Linked DNA regions of Homo sapiens: all the other regions are linked to region 2. Evidence: promoter capture Hi-C in 16 types of primary human blood cells and fetal thymus (Javierre and others, 2016). All regions are on one chromosome and are shown on one strand. Each heading gives the region's core, a stretch centred on a gene start or on the middle of the fragment in contact. The rest is flanking DNA. Distances are from core to core; before and after follow the strand shown.

What was found. Contacts are between HindIII fragments. The CHiCAGO score rates a contact against its expected background, and 5 or more counts as called.
Region 1: a fragment that was not itself captured here is called in contact with the fragment with the promoter of PICALM in region 2 in 1 of 17 cell types (neutrophils); the score reaches 5.6 in neutrophils.
Region 3: a contact is called between a fragment that was not itself captured here and the fragment with the promoter of PICALM in region 2, in 1 of 17 cell types (total B cells). The highest score is 5.3, in total B cells.

The regions. Positions count from the first base shown.
Region 1 is chr11:88,339,588-88,342,287 of GRCh38, forward strand. All of the region lies in intron 1 of LOC101929174 (a long non-coding RNA gene), which reads left to right. Among named protein-coding and RNA genes, the nearest start is that of CTSC, 3.2 kb to the left of the region's middle. The HindIII fragment of the contact is 3,535 bases long and covers 1-2,700 here.
Region 2 is chr11:86,067,659-86,070,358 of GRCh38, forward strand. It overlaps PICALM (phosphatidylinositol binding clathrin assembly protein), which reads right to left and starts at 1,426. Exons shown (of 20, transcript NM_007166.4): 1 at 993-1,426. The coding sequence starts at 1,122. LOC124902731 (a long non-coding RNA gene) reads left to right here and starts at 2,266. Exons shown (of 2, transcript XR_007062823.1): 1 at 2,266-2,700. RefSeq lists enhancers at 72-774, 775-1,476, 1,216-2,415 and silencers at 1,041-1,090, 1,161-1,210, 1,351-1,520, 1,671-1,940. The HindIII fragment of the contact is 7,123 bases long and covers 270-2,700 here.
Region 3 is chr11:83,072,767-83,075,266 of GRCh38, forward strand. It overlaps RAB30-DT (RAB30 divergent transcript), which reads left to right. Exons shown (of 3, transcript NR_038903.1): 2 at 1-38; 3 at 537-946. The region is part of intron 2 of LINC02951 (long intergenic non-protein coding RNA 2951); the gene reads right to left. Among named protein-coding and RNA genes, the nearest start is that of RAB30-DT, 2.0 kb to the left of the region's middle. The HindIII fragment of the contact is 384 bases long and covers 1,059-1,442 here.

The DNA of each region.
Region 1 (2,700 bases), core at 163-2,662, 2.3 Mb after region 2:
CATACTGTTCTCTCTCAAAAATAACTACTAACTCTCCATTCCACGCACACACAAAAAATTGATTCTCAAACTGATCAGACCCCAAATCCTTTACTTTCTGAAATGAAATTAATATATAAACTGCTTACACACTTAATAAAAAGAAATGTAATGCCAAATGTAATATAAAGAAGAAATCAGATATTTTAAATATATTTCTAGTATAATAAGTTATATCCCATCATGTAAAATGTTCAAGTATGACTGTGTTGGAAAACATAATGAGGCACTCAGATACTTGCTCTTCACACTTCTGTAACCACCCAATGGATTCACCTGGCCTGCTGCCTAGACAGAGCCAATTTATCAAGACAGGGGAATTGCAATGGAGGAAGAGTAATTCATACAGAGCCGGCTGTGGGGGAGACGGGAGTTTTATTATCACTCAAATCAGTCTCCCCGAGCATTCAGGGATCAGAGTTTTCAAAGATAATTTGGTGGGTAGGGGCTTGGGAAGTGGGGAGTGCTGATTGGTTAGGTTGGAGATGGAATCATAGGGGGTCTAAGTGAGTTTTTCTTGCTATCTTCTGTTCCTGGGTGGGATGGCAGATATGGTTGAGCCAGATTGCTGGTCTCAGTGGTGTCAGCTGATCTATGGAGTGCAGGGTCTGTAAAATATCTCAAGCACTGATCTTAGATTTTACAATAGAGATGTTATCCCCAGAAGCAACTTGGAGGGTGGGAGGGTGCAGACTCTTGGAGCCAGAGGCCACATGACCCCTAAACTGTAATTTCTAATCTTGTAGCTAATTTGTTAGTCCTGCGAAGGCAGACTGGTCCCCAGGCAAGAAGGGAGTCTTTTTGGGAAAGGGCTATTATCAATTTTGTTTCAGAGTCAAACCATGAACTGAATTACTTCCCAAAGTTTGTTCCACCTATGCCCAGGAATGAAAAAGGACAGCTTAAAGATTAGAAGCAAGATGGAGTCGATTAGGTCTGATTTCTTTCACAGTTGTAATTTTTGCAAAGGTGGTTTCACTTCTATGTAAAATTGTAGAATCGTGGTAAATGTGATAGGAACTTTTTTCTGAGAGCACAAATGATTTCTGATGAGTTATAACTCAAATACCTTATCAATTAATCACTCAAACACCATACCAAAGTTGTTGATGTTGGACAATTCTTGGTCAAATTCCCAGGAGAACAAAGTAGAATTTTCTGTTGAAGGTTTATCAAGAGGTTGCATTCCCAAAAATTCAGTATATGTTAAAATTATATAAAACAAAAGTGAGCTTATGTGCAAAACATGGTCTGTCAGTAGGCTCCCATCATTAAAAGCAGGTTTACAGAGAGGCAGCATTACTTGGCAGTGGTTCTCAAAGTGTAGCCTAGGACCAGGGACATCAGCATCTGTCTTAGTCTGTTTTCTGTTGCTAGAACTGTACCTGAGACTCGGTAATTTAAAACAAAGAAAATTATTTTTTATAGTTCTAGAGACAGGTAAGTCCAAGGTCAAGAGGCCCCATCGAAGGGGGCCCTTCTTGCTGGTTGAGACTCTTTGCAGAATCCCAAGGTAGTACAGGGTATCACGTGGCAAAGGGGGTCATGAGAGATGGCCAAACTAGTGCTTATTACAGACCCACCCTCATGATAACTAATCCTTGATAATTCCATAATCCATTAATCTATTAACCCATGATAGATTCATCCATTCATGAGGGCACTGCCAATCACTTCTCAAAGGTCCCACCTCTCGACACATGACTTTTGGGGGACAACCTATGTTCAAACCACAGCATTCTGTCCCTGACCCCCAGAATTCATGGCCTTCTCACAATTCAAAATACAGTCATTCCATCCTAGTAGTCCCAAAAGACTGAATTTGTTCCAGCACCAACTCAAAAGTCTAAAGTGTCATCTGGGAGTTTGTGAAATCAAAACAAGTTATCTACTTCCTAGATACAATGGTGGGACAGGTATAAGGTATACACTCCCTTTCCAAAAGAGACAAACAGGCCAGAAGAAAGAAGTAACAGGCCCAAGCAAGTCAAAAACTCAGCAGAGAAGACTTAAATTTTAAGGCTGGAGAATAATCTTTCTTGATTCCATGTACAGCATCTTGTGCACATTGGGGGATGGGGTATTTCAGGAGGCCTCAAGGCACCCTGGTGCCCTCAGCTTTCCCAGGCAGGTATTGCATGCTGCTGGTGGCTCTACTGTTCTGGGGTCCTGGTGGCAGTCTGGCTCTTACAGCTGCATTAGGCATTGCCCTTAGGGGGGCTCTATGCAACAACCCCAGTTCCACTGTTCCACTTCGTATTGCCCTAGTGGAAGCTCTCTGCAGTAGCTCTACCCTCAGACAGTCCAACACATTCTTCAAAATCTAGGTGGAGGCTGCCAGGCCTCCACAGCTCTTGCATTCTATGCACCTGCAGAATTAGTACCACATGGATACTGCCATGGTTTACCACTTGTACATCCTAGAGCTGCAGGTTAATCTGCACCTGTGGCTGCTTGAACCACAGCTGGGGGCGCTGAGGAGCAGTGTGCTGGAACGCAGGGAGTAGAGACCCAAAGCAGCCCTGGGCAGCAGTCCATCCCCGGAATTATTCTGCCCTCTTAGAGCTCAGGGCCTATGAGGAAGGGGCAGCCTCAAAGATCCCAGAAATGCCTCTGGGGTTTTTAATTTCATTGTCATGGATAGCCTTTGGCTTCATTCTA
Region 2 (2,700 bases), core at 176-2,675:
TTAAGGGATGTATGTTATTTGTAAGTAAATTTATTAATCCATTTGGAATTCCAACAGTCTACGCTTAACACTCAAGCTTCTGAATTCAAGCCGCCAGAATTAACAGTTCCAGGAACTGATAAGAGTATCAGCAAAATGCCTTTTTCCATATCCCCATGTGAAAAGCTGGGGGGCAGAGCTGACAGTCACAAACTCACCCCAGTCAAAAGTATGGACAACACAACGATTAAATTCCACCAGAGGCAAATAAAAATCCCAACTTTCCAGAAAGCTTTCCCTACACCAAATTGAATCCTTTTACTTTCACTCCCACAAAGAAGGTAATCTGAAATAAAAGTCGGGTAACTGGGTATGGTATTTAAAATGAGTCGAAGAAACTACACTGAAGCTACTATAGAGGCGATGAAAAGGTAACCCAAAAGCAGGAGGGAAGGTGGAACAGAAAGCCAGGAAGGGATGGGCGAAGCAGCTAGTGGAGCAAAGGAAGTGGGGGATCCCTTCCAGGGAGGCAGCCCGGAGGGATAACAAGGATCTGGATGCAAGGAACCAGGCGTTTACTGAAACCCGAAGGAGGCTGATGAAGAAACAATGGGGCTTGGAGACGCTCAGACGAGGGCGACGAGGCGGCACCGGACGGGTGGGAAGGAAGAGCAGAAGGCTGCAGTGGAGACGGGTAGGGGGTGAGAAGCCAGGTGGGGAAGCAAGTTGGTTGGGTATGATGGGGTGTGGTAGCGCACCGGGCAGGGAGACGAGGGTCCCCTAGGAATAGGGAGGGGAGTGGCTTGTCAGATTTTGAGACGGGGAGCGGAGGCCGTGAAGGCAGGTGTGATGGAAGCAAAAGAACACAGCTCAACGGGCACAGGACCGGCCGTGCCAGAGAAGACGCAGGGAGGGAAGAGGCAGTAGAAGGGTGAAAGACAAGAGAGAGAGAGAAGGACGCGCGCGGGTCGCGCGGGCGCCGGGGAGCGGGGGCCGCGGTCGGCTTCACTCACAGTCCAGGTGCTTTTTCTTGGGCCCCATGATCTCGTGGGTCGTGGCCTTGCATACTGTCTTGGATACGGCAGAGCCGGTGACACTGTGCTGGGCGGCAGTGATTCGGTCCGTCAGGCTCTGGCCGGACATCTCTGCAGCTCCTCCACCACCCCACCCGCTCAGCAGCCGGCGGGGACTGGGACCCCCAAGAGCCGGAGGGTCCCCACCCCCCACCGCACCCCCTACCCCCACCGGCTCCTTCCCCGCCTGCCGGCCTGGGGCGCGGTTCGGGGCCGCGCGCTGCCACCAGTCCAGAGAGAACCGGCTCGTGTCACCCGCGGAGTCGGACAAGATGTCGGGCACTCCCTTGCCCCCGCCTCAGTTCAGCCCACCCCTTCCCGGGTCAGCTGGAGCCGGGCAGGGTAAGAGGAACAGGCAGCTGCAGGAAAATGGCGGCGCCAGGCTCCTCCTCGGAGCTTTCCGGGCTGCCCCGGGTCACGTGACTCGGACACCGCCCCTCCTCCCTTCTCCCGCCCCTTTCCCCTTCCCTTTCCTCTTCGACGCCCGCCCTCCCTCGCTCAGCGAGGGAAGAGCTGGGCGGCGCCCGCGCGTTACGTGATGGAACTCGCCAGGCGGGCGCAACAGGAGGCCCGCCCGAGGGGAGTGCACAGCCGGCGCATCACGTGACTCTCCCTGCCAACAGGTCGCCTGAGGCTCGGCCCGCGGGGTCACAGACGCCGGGCGGGGCGGGGCGGGAGAGGAATGGCGAGGGCGGTGTGCTGGCGGGGGTGGGGCGGGGCGGCAGGCTTCTCCCCTTATCCCCCCACCTCAAGTGTGTCCTCGTGTCTGTGGTTGAAACCAACAGCTTGACAAAGGAGGTGCAGCTGCCTTCACAGCTTCCCCTGAAGTGGGGGGTATTAGGCCTCTGGCTCCCCGAGCTTTCCCAGCAGAGTCAAGAATGTATTTCAAGACGCCTCCCAAAGCCGCCCTCCTGGCTTAAAGGAGAAGGTTCCAAACGGCCTATTTTCTGAACCTTCCAGCAGGCCTCTCTCTACCATGGAACTATTGAAGCTCTCCTTATTTACTTACCCCAGAAAGGTTTTTTCCCCCCTTTCCTTGAGAGGCTTGGAAATGTCACCTGGTTTTGTTTATCTCTACTCCGAAAACCCGACACGTTGCTGCCATTCTAAATTTAGATACTAGCTGGCCGGTATTCATTCTCTAGGGTGTGGAATAGGACAGGAAACACATAGCTTCACTGGAATTTGAAAAGGGAAGTAGTAGGATGATGTCAACAGCGATTAGCTTGACCCTACATGGCTGACTGCTGTGGTGATTAAAGGTCCAGACCATAGAAGGAAGTGAGAGGGGCGGTAAATGGAGAAGTCCCATTCAAACAGTCCAGACATCACTGCCTGCCATCTCCCCTGGTTTAGTCTTTCTTACCTTTGGCCTCTTTTCTCTTATTGGGTGAGCCAGATTTCCATGGAAAGACGTTGACACTGCCCTGTGGACATTTTAAAAGAAGTATTACATCCTGAAATACTATTCAATGAGACCCAGACCATACATTAACAAAGCCTTTTATATGTTATTAGAGCCTCTACATTCAACCCAGGGTTAGGGATAAGTTGAAAAATATGTGAGTGCTAAGTTACCATGATAGTCACATGTAATCTTGCTAGTTTCAAATGAAATGCTAACATTCTCAGAAAGTCTGTGTACACC
Region 3 (2,500 bases), core at 1-2,500, 3.0 Mb before region 2:
ACCAGCGAAAGCAGATGTTCAAAGGGGATATTGGCCAGGTGCGGTCGCTCACGCCTTTAATCCCAGCACTTTGGGGGCAGACGCGGGGAGATAGCGTGATTCTAGGAGTTCAACCCCAGCCTGGGCAACATGCGGAGACCCCGTACCGTCTCTACAAAAACATTAAACAAAAAAATTAGCTGGGCATGGTGGTGTACCCCTGTAGTTGCAGCTACACTAGAGGCTGAGGTGGGAGGATCGCTTGAGCCCGGGATGTTGAGGCTGCAGTGAGCCTCGATCCTACCACTGTGCTCCAGCCTGGGCGACAGCAAGCCCGTGTCTCAGAAAAGGCGGGAGGGGTGGGATATTATTGATGATAGGCCTTCTGACGTCTGGCAATAGATTCCAGAGTAACATCGGTCATGGATAAATTTTTTTTTTAACTAAGTGACTGAAACCAAAGTTAATTGTCTTTTGAGTGATTTTGCACAGTATCTCAAAATGAACTGTACTTTTTTTCTTGTGTCACTGAAACAGTGCTGTGTGTTCTTTTTCAGAGTCTGTCACACTAAGATGAGAAATGTCCTTTCTTCCTGAAGGTGTCTGATGTGTAAAAATATGATATACTTTGTGCTGTTTCCTCCCTTCCCTTTTGCATATTATTCTGAAACAACATTAACTAGTTACTTTGCGTCATTGAAGGTATGCACTTCCCCTCTATGTTAGGAGTGAATAAAATTAAAAATAGATCCTTATAACAAAGAAAGGCAGATAGAATGATTAAAAATGACCAAAACATGTTAGAAACAGTCTCTCAGGTGTATGCAGATGGTAATTACAAAAATACTTTTTCAAAAAATGATCTTCTGTGTCATGTTTCTGGGAACAAGTCAAGATGAATGAGTTTGATTTTTAAGCAGAAGTAGTATGTGTTGGTGTCATCCATGAATACAACAATGAAAAAGGCTCAAAGTTGTTGTTATTCAGAAACTTCTCTAAGTAATGGTGGTAAGTACAGGAAAAGGAGCAATGTCTACCATTTTCTTTCTAACCTTCGATTTAACTATTGTAATGTTGTAAGCTTAACAGAGACTTACACTTAGGCTTAATTTCAAGCTCTTCAATCATTTTTCCCGGTTGGTGATTCAGGTGTATTCTCATGTCTTATGTAAACTTATCATGAGTGTTGTTGATTTATAATATATTTCTTTATGTAAGCCATAGCCTTGTCAGTTTGAGTTATATGGAAGACAAATTGTAGGGAAAAAGAGCAACAGATTACTCAGAAACCTTCTGTGTGAGCTGGGCATAGTAGTGCATGCCAGTAGGCTTAGCTACTTGGGAGGCTGAGGCAGGAGGATCACTTGATCCCATTAGTTTGAGGCTGCAGTGAGCTATGATTGTGTCACTGTACTCCAATCTGGACAACAGTGAGACTATGTCTGTTTTTAAAAAAGAAAGAAAGCTTGTGTTTGAGAAGTGATACCTCTAGAATACAGTGATTTCTATAATTTGTCATGTGTTTGGGTAGTTTGAAGTTTTTCTATCCTTGTATCTAATGGACATCTGACCATAAAGATGAAAAAATCCTGCACTCATTATAAATTTTATTTATAAAATTGATATTTGAGGAGTTGGGGAGGCCAGCTTCTGAAAAAATAACAGTGTCCCATAGAAACACCACAACTTAGGAAAATATTGTTAAAGTGGAATTAGGAATATCTAGAGGAGGTAAAGCTTTTCATCTCTCAAAAAAGAATTAGGGCCAGGCACAGTGGCTGACACCTGTAATCCTAGCACTTTGGGAGGCCGAGATGGGCACATCACTTGGGGCCAGGAGTTCAAGACCAGCCTGGCCAACATGGCGAAACCCCATCTCCAAGAAATAGAAAAGTTAGCCAGGTGTGGTGGCGTGCGCCTGTAATACCAGCTACTAGGGTGGCTGAGGCAGGAGAATCGCTTGAACTGGGGAGGTGGAGGTGGCAGTGAGCAGAGATTGAGCCACTGTACTCCAGCCTGGGCAACAGCAAGACCCTATCTCAAAAAAATAATAAAGAGAATTAGGACATGGATTTGTATTAAAATTATAGGTAGCTCATTTAAGAGTATGAAGCCAATTGCTGTTAGAGCAAGGGTTTTTTTCAGTAGAGGTGTCAGGATAACCTATACAGCTCTAAAAGTATATGGCTGTTACCTTCCCATCCCTGTTGAAATCTCCAGGGTTAGAACCAAGTATTGTGTTTTTAAAACTATAGGTGAGTCTACAAGAGTTGGGTGGAGTAGTCCTCTACATCCTGTGTTTGTATTTTTGCAGTAAGTCACACAATAACAAAAGCTTTGAGAAAGATTTTAGGTTTATTGCTAATTATACCCATGAATGAATTCTGAAAATGTGTAGATAAGGAATTTACCTGGTGAACGGTTTACACATGGCAATTGTGGGAGGGAGAGGGGAGTGAGAGGAGATGAGATCAGTTTTAGCTTTAAGAGGACCAACCGGGCCAAGCACGGTGGCTCACGC